Regions from separate parts of the Homo sapiens genome. Here region 1 is linked to region 2. Evidence: promoter capture Hi-C in human tissues and cell types (Jung and others, 2019). All regions are on one chromosome and are shown on one strand. The core of a region is centred on a gene start or on the middle of the fragment in contact, and the rest is flanking DNA. Distances in the headings are between cores, read along the strand shown.

Evidence for each region. Contacts are between HindIII fragments. The study calls those that stand out against the background at their distance.
Region 1: a contact is called between a fragment that was not itself captured here and the fragment with the promoter of SYT10 in region 2, in 1 of the 25 tissues and cell types used here (dorsolateral prefrontal cortex).

What each region holds. Positions count from the first base shown.
Region 1 is chr12:34,010,699-34,017,311 of GRCh38, forward strand. No RefSeq gene overlaps it. Among named protein-coding and RNA genes, the nearest start is that of ALG10, 8.5 kb to the right of the region's middle. The HindIII fragment of the contact is 6,865 bases long and covers 1-4,997 here.
Region 2 is chr12:33,438,315-33,444,784 of GRCh38, forward strand. It overlaps SYT10 (synaptotagmin 10), which reads right to left and starts at 1,505. Exons shown (of 7, transcript NM_198992.4): 1 at 1,058-1,505. The coding sequence starts at 1,208. RefSeq lists an enhancer at 416-1,232. The HindIII fragment of the contact is 9,708 bases long and covers 1-6,470 here.

The DNA of each region.
Region 1 (6,613 bases), core at 315-2,814, 570 kb after region 2:
CAATTATTAGGTTAAAATATTTTGATTTATTATTCATGCTAAATGAACACTGTCAAAATAACAGATTTTATGGAAACTAAGACAACATCAAAGGTACAATATACATGTTGTTATTGGTACTAATTAATGTCTTTACATATCTACTAACTTCACTGTAGAGAATAAATATGTTTCTGCAAATTTATATACAAATTCTAATTTTAACAATCAAATCTTTCTTTTATTAAACTAGGGCATTTGCTGTGGAAAGGAGCCCTTACTCTTTTTGGTGTTGTAGTTCTTGTTTTGTTTTCAAACAATGAAAACATTATGTAATTTGAAAAATTATCCCCATGCTGTTTGCTTTGTAAATCCATGTTTGTTTATTAAAGCTTTTACTCTTGAGACTATATTGATAAAAATCTAAATATTTTATCTTCATCTTATATAAGCTTCACATGTTGGTATTAAAAAATCCTCTTGTAATAAACACAACTCTAAGAGATTAATGATTTACATGCTAGAGAAATGAAATAAGCTTATCAGTGATGAAAGAGATGTATGTATCCTACTTTCTGGAAAATAACATATTTCATTACTTGGCTGTTTGATTTACAAAAATTATAGATTGTATTGGAAGTCCCATGAATGTGCCTGGTAAAATATAATGGAATACTTATATTTCTCTTGAGAATACTCTAATATAATGTATTTGTATTTCTCTGAATTTGAAGGGAACAGCCTAAAACTGTATGCTATCAAAATGCAAATATAACATAATTTTGCCAGGAACCTACTCTCTTCATCAGGAAATATAGACCACAATAATTAAATTCATGCTGGAAAACAATGCTTTCCATTAGCACAGTTTTATTTTCAAAACCAGAATAAAGTGTGGATTTAGAAGTAGTCTCAGTCCTCATCTTTGGAAAGATTCAGTTTTTCTAATTCAGGCTACAAGTACTTGTAAAAGATCGTATAAAAATATTTCACCTAACCACATTCATTTTGGCTACCTAGCTAAATGTGAATTACTTTGAAAGAGGGGATTAACGGGCATGACTGTGGACCATAAAATATGCAATAGATAAATATTCTTGAAAAACAGTGACTCTTAAAGAGTTAGTATGTTTTTCACTCATCTTGGAACCTGCAGTAATATTGATGTCCTTGAACAAAGTGATATATTTAGAACAGATGACTGACTGCTATGGGGATTTAAATAAACTATGATTTTAAAATTGTCTATTTCTCTATTTTTAAATTTTCTTCTGAAAATAAATTTCAATGCACTTCTTCAAATCTTTCACATTTTCATACCTCTTTACTTTTTCTTGTGCTGATATCTCTAAATGGAATGCTCCCTCATCCTACCCACATCTCCTTTTTTCTGACATCTAACTAAATTATATTATTTTAAATTTTCAACCTGAGCATCTTTGTGAAGCTTTCTCTAATACTAGGGATAAAGCATCTGGTTTATGAGTATTTTTTCAGGTATATCAACTTTCTCAGAAATTTGTCAGACAAATTTTTAAATTTTAAATGTTTAAATCTTCTATAGTTAATATATGAATCACCTATTTTATTGAATGACTATGTGTCAATAACAAAGATTCACATGGAGTTTTTTTCTTTAATGAAATGCTATAAATTGACTTCCTATAGCAATAAAGTGAACAAAGTTTGGTCTCTCTTTTATATTTGTAGTAATTTATTAGTAAGTCAATATTGCAATGTATCAGAATATTCTTCACCAGCAGGTCAATATAAAATTCAGGAGATCATATAAAGGACCAAAATGTAGTCACAGAGTCTTCTTACATTAATAGTAATTGGTACAGTTTGGACTGACAAGTTCTTAGACCTTGGAACAATTGTAGAATCCAGAAAAATTTTCTAAGACACAAATAAAAGATGTGCTACAGTTTACTATTCTTCCAAAATTCCATGTGTCAAATAATTGAAATAGTACCTGCCTGCAATATTGAAAAAGATAAATGGTAGCAGTTCCAAGGAGACTGATTTTATAACAACTTTAACTCTTCTGGATATAAACTTCTGTATTAATTCAAATACATGGTGAATTGAAGTTGCTAAAAGAGAAAAACAGGTATTAATACCTATGCTATTAATGCTGTCATTTTCACGAGTCTGTTTCAGATTTATCCTTACACATTAATAATACTGATATCCCAAAGCAGAGATTTAATTAAATTTTCCAAATAAGGCAATACATTTGTAAGCATACTTAGAACCATGATAAATAAAGCTAAAATGTATTCTTTAAATAAATGAACCAAGTAAATTTGTGTTGCTGTGACTTTGATTTAATAACATGGAATTTTTACATTACTCACTTGCTAATCAAAGAAATGTTATAATCTTTGATGAAGTATCCCTAGGTTCTGATTTATTTCTTTATTTTAATAAGTCAGGATATATTTTTTATGAAATGTTATTTTAAATGGCATTATGATCAACAGATTTTTATTAAATATTTACTAGGAGCATGCCAAACAAAAGACTCATTACTCAAGCTCCACCAAACTGTTTTCTAGACTAAATTAATTACAGATTCTTAGGCAAACGACAATGCACAGAGTTGTGCTAATGGCTTCACGATGTTCCTAGTTTCCTAAGACCCAATCTATTCCCATCTCCTCAAGTAGCCCTCAATGATTTTAACTACTTTTCTTCTTCCCAAACTTAGGTGACATTATATCCTAGGATAGCTTTCAGTTCTTTTATTTATTCAAGTGTCATCAATGAGTAATGAATAATTCAGTAGTTATTAAGGACTACTGAATGTTTGATACTGTGTTAAGCACCGAGTATGTTACTTGCAATCAAGTGTCTACGTGGCAAATAATGTTAGCAACGTAATAAATGCACTATATTAAGTGGCATTACAGTAGCAACAACATCAAACATATATTTCTCATTGATAGCATTTTAGGCACCTGTGGGTTGACTGCTATGACTCTGTGAATTTCCATCTCAGAACAAAGGCTAAAGATACAGTCCCTATTTAGTACCTGACATTCTTATGGCAGAGGAAAAAGTGCAGGAGTTAATTGTTTAGTGGCTTTTAACATTTCTGCTTGAATGTAATACACAGTTGATTTCTACTGTTTGAGGTAGTAATGTTCGTAAAGAATATTATTTATTGCGTATTAAAATATATTATTTGAAATATATTAATATAATTAATTATATATTATTAATTATATAGTGAAAGATAATTAATAGTGGTGTTATGAATAATCAAGTTAAAAAATGAATAGCCTTCCACAGAAATTCTTATATTTACAGCCTTTTGCCTAGGTCGGTGGCATTGAACATAAGGTGATTACAAAGTGCGTAAGCATTTGACCCAAATGCATTTGTGATAATTACTTATTTTTCATTAATGAAAGCATGTAATTTTTCAGTAAAGCTGTTATATTTTATGTTACATTGAGAAATAAGAGGTTTATGAATAGGTAAGTTGAATAAAAATATTTTGATCAGCCATTTAACACATTAATTAATTTGATTCAACTTTTGTATCTGGCTAGTTAGGATTTAAAGAAAAATTATCTGCAACACTTTCACTTATACCCATGAGGGATTATGCATAGAACTGTACACTTAAAATGTGTGAATTTTACTGTGCATAAATTTTATCTCAATAAAAATAATTTTCAAAAGAAGAACCTGTATCTGTATAGACATTTTAAGTTGTAGTAAATAACATACGTTTTATGAAACAAGTTTTTGATTGCCAGTGTTACTGCTGTTTAAGTTAAGGAAATAGTTGGGAATGGTATAACAGGATTCATGGCAGTAGAAAGCCAAAAGTATTGATTTAATTTCTCTCAACTTCAAAAAAAAAAAAAAAAAAAGAGAGACAGAGAGAAATAAAAAAGTCTTGGTTCAAGATCTGATTACAAGGTTTGCCACTTATAGTGTAAGACTATCATCACATCTGCTTAGAAATGAGACATACATAAAAGTGTTGGCCAGGATACCAGAGAGCAGAGAGAAGGAATTCCAACCTGCAAACTGATTTATTTGCTGCTTCTGCCTCATTATAACTAATACATGTCCATTTTTCTGAGGAATTTGGCTAAGATTTCCTTTCACTGCAATGAGCTATCTGATAATGTGTTTGCAGAGGTGGAAAAGTAGAGTGCTCTACCAATGAAGAATACCCATAATCATGAAAAAAAATTAAAGTTCTGGCACATAACAAAAAGCCAAATTAGTTTATGCTTGCTTGATAAATAACCCTCTTGACACTCAGAGAGCACTGAATTCTCAAACATAAAAGAAAGGGCTAAGTTTAGGTTGAGTTGTTGAGCATTCTACTAAATGATGTTGGCCAAACAAAAACACTATGCTAAATATTTATTATATTAAATTTTTAAGTTACCAAGTCAAAAATATCACCTTACACATCTTCTGGACATAGTGCAAAGTTGTTTATTTTATTTCATTTTTTAAGTTAAGTTTTCATTTGTTATAAGGTAATAGAACATTTCTCAAACTACACAGGGTAAATAACTAGTTTTATTCTAAATTTCCAACCTATCATGGATTAATAATTCTATGAAATATAACAAAAATGAATTGTTAGAAAAGTGAAAGAAAAAACAGACATATAAAATATGTTCATTTTTAGTATTAATTCTATAAAAATAAAATTACCCTGCCATACTGCTATAAAAATTTCTAAAAGCTTATTCTTAATTTCTGTACTTATATGTTCAAAAATAGTAATACAGGGATCTGAACAGGCACCAGTCCACAAAACACACTTTTAAATGAACATCTGTGTTTCTTCCAAAGGTAAAATAAGTGCAATAAGCTTATAATTGTTCTAAATAAGGGTCACTATATTTGCCAAACTTCAATTTGTTTTCCCAAGATTTAACTATTTTCAATAGTTTGACAGTTACCTTGGTAAATTGAAATAACAAGCCTATGTTGCCATTTCTTGACTTTTTCTTATTTTTATTTATTATTATTTTAACTTTTATTTTAGGTTTGAGAGTACATGTGAAGGTTTTTTACATAGGAAATCACATGTCATGGGGATTGGTTGTGACAGGGACTTCTTGATGAAAAACTGGACAATTGACTTGAATTAAAGTTTTATAAATGAGAATATTCAAATGACCAATAAACATATGAAAAAAGCTTATTTTCATTCGTCATTAGGTAAATACAAATTAAAACTACAATGAGATGCCATAACATATGCACCAGAATGGGTAACAAAAAACTAACAATACTAGGTGTTGATAAAGATATGAAAGAAGAAAAACGCTCATATACTGCTTGAAGTATAAATTGGTACAACCACTTTAGAAGACCCATTGTTAATATTTAACCTAGAAAATGCACAGATTTATGAGACACTCATTACAATCCTGGGTATATACTCTACAAAATGTGTGCTTAGGTAATATAATCAAGACACACACACACACACACACACACACACACACACACTTCAAATTCTAGTGGAGATCTGTTTTTATCTTGTGCTAAGTGCTGAACCCTGAATGTCAAAAGTCTTCCTCTCAGTATTCCTGCTCCATCCTCAACTTTCAGCACTCTTTGCAAGCCTGCACCTCAGAGGGATTTTTTTCCCCATGCTTTGTCTCATTCCCCAACACAACAGTTGACTTCTTGTCACTCAGTGCCAGCCAGGTTCATAGCGGGAGGTGAGGAGGTAGGTTCAGTGCTCCTGGCCCATCTTCAGTGGTAGACACATCCTTCTTGAGGCCCTACCTGAGAGGGGGAATGGAGGGCTTTCAAGTTGTTCCTGTTCCTCCCTACTATAGTAGCCAAACTGTGCCTTGCACGTGTGGCAGTTTTAGAGCCAGGGAGTGTTCGCTACCTCTCCACTAGGAGCACCATACCTCTGCTTTGAATTACTGAAGGATGGAGGCCTGAAGACCTTCCTGCTACTCCATTGAGGGCAAAAGATTTTTCCTTCTCTCCCTTCTCCAGGATCTTTGGCTGCCTCCTGGGGTGGAACTATCTCACCTTCCTCAGAGAACTAAGGCTTTTTCTTCACATGATTGAAGGGCCCAGACAAGTGTGCAGCGTGTTGTTCATTCCCCAGAGGCAGCCAATCAACCCATGTGTGCCTGTATCTCCATCAGAGTCTGGTTTCTCACCTGCTCCCAATATTTTTTTGCATGATGACATGACTATCGTAAGACATTTTCACTACCAAAAATAATAGTAATGAATTGTTAATATTGTACATAATGAACTTTAAAAAATTACAAACATAGCCATCCTGAGTGGCAGTCGCATTGGGCGGATATTTGAGTGCTGATGGGTAAACATGACTACAATCAGTAAACATAAACTAAAACATAACTGGAATCAGTAAACAAACTAAAACCTAACTGGTAGCAAAAGTAACAAATTGGTCCTGATTCTGTTGAAGTTGTCAACACCCTCTAGCGGAAATATGTTTTTTTTTAAAAGCAAGTTTTTAAATGCAGAGACCTTTCTCACACATTTTTCCAGTCATTGAAATTTGGCAGTTACAGAAACTAACATTTGGAGGCAGTAAAAAAACAGTGTAGTGTTTCATTTTATTATAGTAAATAAATGTAAATCATTTAAT
Region 2 (6,470 bases), core at 255-2,754:
GGCAACCTTCCAGTCGAAAATCCCCAAAGCAGTGTTTTTTGACTCCTAGTGCAACAAGTGACCCTCTCAAGCGGCTCTTGAAACCACGCAGCCCGCAACTCGGGGATCCACCTCGCGTGCGCCCGAGGAGCACAGCAGGCTGGACACACCAACCTTTTCCCCAACCGTGACCCAAACAGTGGCTTGGATTCGATCCTTTCCACCCCCAAGCCTTGAGGAAAATCCACTTGAGACTTTTTTCCATCTCCAGATTTCCGACGGTCGATATCCTCCTGCATCCAGCCCATTTCCTAGTTTCCTGAAGGGTAGGGAGGACGTCTGTGAGTTGGATGTCTGAGAGCGTGCGTGTGCTAGGGATTTTAAACGTCTCCCCTCTCTTCCACTTCTTCGATATGTGCTCTGAGCTTTAGGTGTCGCCTCACAAATGGGATCAATAATCCTTGTTTTACCAACTTTGTCATGAAACCCTAGAAAATCATATATATTAAAAGGGCTTTAGAAATTGTCAGGTGCCCGACAGGTTGCAGCCGCGGGTTACCTCGGAGGCCAAGGCAGCCACCTCTGCAAGGGAGTTCTGCGTCCAAGCATGGCTTGTCCGTCCCGCCTGGCCCCCATCAACAAGGCCGGGACCAGCGGCCGGTGGAACGAGCGAGAGCAGCCCTAGTCCCACAGGTGAGCCGCCCCCACAAGCAGCCAAGCCGCGAGCCGTCCCGGCGCCGTCACCGCCCGCACTCACTTCTCCACTCCGGGAGGGAGATGGGAGGCGTGGGAGAACGCGGAGAGGCGCGGCGAGGCTGGGAGCGGGAGACGGCGCCGGGAGGCGGGAAGCGGACCAGAGAATGGGAGAAGCCCGGCAGGTGGACAGGAGGAAACAAAACCCAAACGCCCCACCCTCGAAGTCGTCAGGAGCTGAGCGAAGGAAGGAGCGAGGTAGGAAAGCGTGGCGCCCCAAATATGCCGCGGGAGCGGCGCGGGAGGCGCAGAACCCCGGAGCTTGCAGCCTAGCGCGCGGGGTCCCAGCGGAGCGCGAGGACGCGAGCGGAGCCCTCCCGGTTACCTGTGCTGCTTCCGCCCTGGCTGCCCCTGTCCCGAGGGAAGATGCCCGAGCACTTCTCCCACTCCACCTGGCCGGCGAAGCACAGCTCGGTGACGATGTGCAGAGCCTTCTGGCACAGACTGTTCACTCCGTCCTCCTTGTGGAAACTCATCGTTTGGCTTTTCTTTCGTTTTCTCTTTTTTTCCCAGTTAGCCGTCTTTTCCTCTTCCCGTACCTCTAACCCCTCTGGCGCCCTAAGCCATAGTCCGCCCGCGGTGACTTTGGCTGGAGATTGCGCCGCTGAGAGCCGGCAACTCTTAGGAGCCCCACGTTGGCCCCATGGCGGGAGCGGAGGGCGTAGGGGAAGGAGAGGCGCGCGAGGAGGCTGCGGCTGCCGCGAGGTTTGCGCCAACTCTCCCGCCGCGCGAGCGAGCCGAGGCGCGCTGGAACTAGAGACCCGGCATGGAGTGCTGAGGGGAGGGGGGAGCCGTAAAAAAGCCAAAGCAAGCCCTCGACTCGCAAGCACGCCCCCCTCCTCTCCCCAGCGCACTGGTGTTTCTGGCGGGTGCCTGGCGGCGACGCGTCCAATCGCAGCCCGGCGCGGGCGCTAGGTGACAGGCGGCGGAGCGCGCAGACCCGGCTCCCCGCGTCCTCTGAAGAAGGGACTCGCGAGGGAGGGAGGGAGGGAGGGCGGGCGGCCCGGCGCCCCTGCCGAGGCCGGGGATGCTCATCGTTGCCCAGAGTTGGCCCGAGGAGCCCTCTCCGTTTTCCCAATACTTTTCCCTGCATCAGTGCAGCCATCCCCGCCGCCTTTGTCTCTCCAACTTTTCCACGGATGTATTCTACTTTCTGTGCTATCTGCTTCTGCCCTTCTGGAAAAGTCATCCCAATCGAAGAAAAACTGAAAAAGTTAATTAGAAAAAAGAATGCGTGAATAAGCAAACCCTCTTAGGTAGATCACAAAATAAAATGTTATTTGTACTAATAATCAGATAAGATTCTGTCGATTAATCCGTAATTGGCGATTGAGAATGCACAACTTGACTCCCTCCATCTCCTTTCTTAGCGACTTAAAACAAGACATGGGTGTTAAAGGGAACAGGATTAAGTTCAAATCTGTCACACATCTCAGCCTAACCTTGAAGTTGTTTTCAGGTCTTGGCGATCCTCCTACTTCAGCCTCCCTAGTAGCTAGGACTCCAGGGACTCCAGGCGCTATTTTTTTTTTTTAAACTTATTGTAAAGACAAGGATCTCACTATGGTGCCCTGGCTGGTCTCGAACTCCTGGGCTCAATCAATCCTACCGCCTTAGCTTCCCAAAATGCTGGCACTAGCCACCACGGCCGGCCTGCTTTCGGGTCTTTGCCTGAGTCTGTAAAATGGGAGATTTGGACTCGGATGTCTTAAGCTCACCTGTTTTTATAATTCTTTAATGCAAATGGGTGCAAATCAGTAGAACTAAAGCGACAAAATAATAAACATGGGCTTCAGGATATAATATGTTTATATGGTTTTTAAACTGTTTTCGGGCAGAGTTTGATCCCATATCATAACCTGAGGATTGATTTAACCCTCTTGTGATGAGGGATTCTTTATTTTTGAAGTGGGATACATTGAACTTGTTAGCGTGTCTATGCTAGTAGAATAAGTAGTCTTTTTTAAAAACAGCTAATCAGTTCATGGTAAATTATTTGCTTTGCACAGGACTATGGTAAACCTAGTATAAATATTAGGCATAGCACTCCAGTAGGGAAGCATTCATTAGTTGAATCATTTTGACCTGATCCATAGGACGATTGGTTTAACTAGGACTATTTTTACCACGAATTAAGACAAACTAAAATCTGCAGGCTTCATTTGGTTTTTGTCTTTATGCACACTGACTTGGGTGGTTTTTAAGTCAAATTGTCTAAAGAAATAATTTCACTGTCAATCAAAAAATATTAAACATCTACTGTATGCACAAAACTAAATAACACACTTTAATAAGGCCCTTTCCAATTGCCTTTTGCCCCCCATTCTGCTACAGTCTACACAGACAGACCGGTAGAAAACAGCCTGCAATGCAATGCTGTACTTTCATATTTACCATATGAACTAATTGCTGTGTAGGAGGACCAAATGAGTAATTATCTTTATACTACTTACAGATTCTAATTGCTTAAGTGGAGTAATGCAGAAGGTCTCCCTAATGACCCTCTTGTGTTTGATTTCAGTGTTAAACATTAGGTAAACAAATTCTGAAAATAACTTTCCTGGTATTTGTTTATGCTGTTCCTGGCCTGTTGCTACTCTTACTGCTGTGTTTTCACAACAAGCAGAGTTAATTTCACTTGGATATTCGTTTTTCTGAATTCATTTCTCTGAAAAAAATTTTCTTTCATCTAAAATGAATATCACAGGTTTTGATTTTTTTCTTTGTTCTTTGGACCATCTCGCAGCTCATTAGCAGGTGAATCAAAACAGTTTTGTTTGTCACTAACTAAAAGCTCAGGTAAGAATTTTGGGCAAAGTAAAAACTGCATTGAAGGTCATCTTTTTCAATGCTGAAGGATAAGATGACAAGAATTTCAATTTTCAGTCTTTAAATTTTTTTTCCAACTATTTCAGCTACCAAGAACCTAAAAAGTAAATCAAGCAATACAGATTTGCATTTACTTCCCCACTCACACTCTGAAGGAATTGGTGAAATAGTAAAAGGAGAGGAGTGCAGGTTAGACTGATATTTACTGAGCATTGTTGGCTGTGCTGAGTACTATAGTAGCCATTGTTAGTCAAAAAAATACTAGCTGTAATGATCTCTGTCACAGCTTCCTTCTGGATGACCTCTACGTTATGTAGAGGAGGGATTGGTTTGGAAATAAGGAGCCCAGGAAAAACCCGTGTGAACTAAGCATACCTGTTAAGTGACAATTTTAAACATTCAAAACTCTGATTTCCCTACTTGCTCAATCCTCTTTCAATTCCTTCTTGCCCTTTCTCGTTCATATCGTGGGGGAGGGAGAGTTAGCTTGTTAGGCAGAGATCTCTCTACGGTAAGGGGAACTTGGGAATCACTCTAACACTATAATTTTAAATATTATTTGACCTCCAAAACAGGAACTAAGAGAGTAGGTAAATGAAGAAATCTCAGAGCAGCTGAATGAAGATCACAGAAAATTATTAAATTTGAACTTACTTCAAGTGTTACTACTTTCCTTTTCTGTATTCTATTGGCAGCTCAGATTCATAACAGACCAGTTGTAACTTTCTGTATACACTTGGGGCTGGTCCCGTATTCCTCAATTCAGAAAATGGAATTGCCACTCACTGCCAACTGGTGATCATGATGACCAAACTTCTGGCTTGCACAGAAGAAATGAGAAGTCCAGTTCTGACTCCAGATCCTTTTCTTTTCTTTTCTTTTCTTTTCTTTTTTTTTTTTTTTTTTTTTTTTTGAGACGGAGTTTCGCTCTTGTTGCCTAGGCTGGAGTACAATGGTGCGATCTCGGCTCACTGCAACCTCTGCTTCCCCGGTTCAAGCCATTCTTCTGCCTCAGCCTCCAGAGTAGTTGGGATTACAGGCGCCCGCCACCATGCCCGTCTAATTTTTTTGTATTTTCAGTAGAGGTGGGGTTTCACCATGTTGGCCAGGCTGGTCCTAAACTCCTGACCTCAGGTGATCAGGCCACCTCGGCCTCCCAAAGTGCTAGGATTACAGGCATGAGCCACTGTCCCCGACCCTCCAGATCCTTTTAATACAACCCAATTCATCACTCTGGAAGATTTGGTGTCTTCTCTTTTTCCATTATGTTCAATTTGTTCATTTTTCCTGATGGATACCCAGTGAGCATTTCAATCTGAGACTCAATGTTGAGTTCTTCAATTCCAAGAATTCTATTGATTTATTCCTTCAGTAATGTTCTAACTTCCATTTTTTTTCTGTGCAGTCCCTTACTAGAACTACTTTTTTGTTGGATTTTTGACTGCTAGGACTGAATCGCCAATTTTCACTTCTCTTCTATTTTCCAATTTTGTCACCTTACTCCTTGTGCTTTAATTTTGGGGAGATTTCCTTTGACCTTGTTCTCTGAGCTTTCTATTAAACTACTATGATTTCATCTTTTATAGTTCTAAGATCTGTATACTTTTTGGCTTAGTGATTCTTTTTTCTTATTTCATGAATGAAAATCTTTTCTTATTTGTCTGACCATATTAATTATGTATATTTAACACGCTTTCACCCTCGTTTTAGTCTTGTCATCTTTTTCTCTGAATAACTCTTTTTTTGTTGTTGTTGTTCTGTTCTTTATGTTGGAGGATTTTTTTCTCAGGTGTCTGCTGATCCCTGGATCTCCATTTAAAAACACTGTAATATGGATTTGCAGGACCAAGTGCATCGGTAAGACACAGAAACAATGAGCATCACTGAAGGGCAATTCAGAACTGAGTTGTACTTTTAATTGGAACACCCCAAATATCCGTTATCAACAGCTTTATTCTCTGGAGTGATTCAATTCTTTTCAGAGAGGGACTATCTAGTCTCTCACCAGGGATGTAAGGTAGTAATTAAAATCTGCCTGCTTTTACTTAATCCTCCTTCTTCAGTCTGTCGCCCGACTCTGTCCTCTTTTGGGTCTGGTGTCCAGCATCTAGAGCCTTTCAAGGTTAATATTTCTGGGCAAAACAAAGCATAAAACAAACCTCTTTTATTTGCAATTTGGCGAAGGGTAATAATTAAAGATGTGTGGGTGGAGACTTGAGCTTCAAGACATCTTAAGAATTACATTGACCCCCAACCCCTGCCTTTTTAGCCTCTTGTCTTACCCCCACCTTCTGCAGAATGAATATGAGGTGTTTCCATCTCTGTTTTTTTTTCTGGGTCTCTCTGGGGTGAATCACTAGCTTCTCATTGCTGTCTGCCTCTAGAGGTTTAAGCTCTCTCTGCTTAGCAAGTCAGTGACTGCTTCTTCACCAGCTTCCATCTTCTAAACCTATTAACATCTTTTGTCTTTTTTTTCTTTTTAGTCTTTTTGTTCTTTTGGGTTTATAGCCTTTTATAGCTTTACTCTCATTGCAGTGTCATTTCAGGAGCAGGAACACAAGCACACAAATTCTTAATTTATCATATTTAGCTGTTTAAAAAGGCAATTCTCATTGTGCCACTATTTAAAACTTTCCAGTGGCTTCCAACTGTGCTTTAGATTTATTGAATACCTTCAGTGTGGTCTGTAAAGCCTTACCTGACCTGACTTCTGTCTATCTTCTTTATTGTTTTCTGAGTTGACTGTGTACTTTCTTTTCATCCTCAATTTCTCCTTTGCAGCACAAATCATAATTAAAGTCAAATAATTTGTTGTAAGCTCTGGAAGGAAGGAAACATTTATTGCTTTATCACTGCTCTTTTTCTAGTGCTTCACACTGTGCCAGCAGTAATAGCTATTCGATAAACCT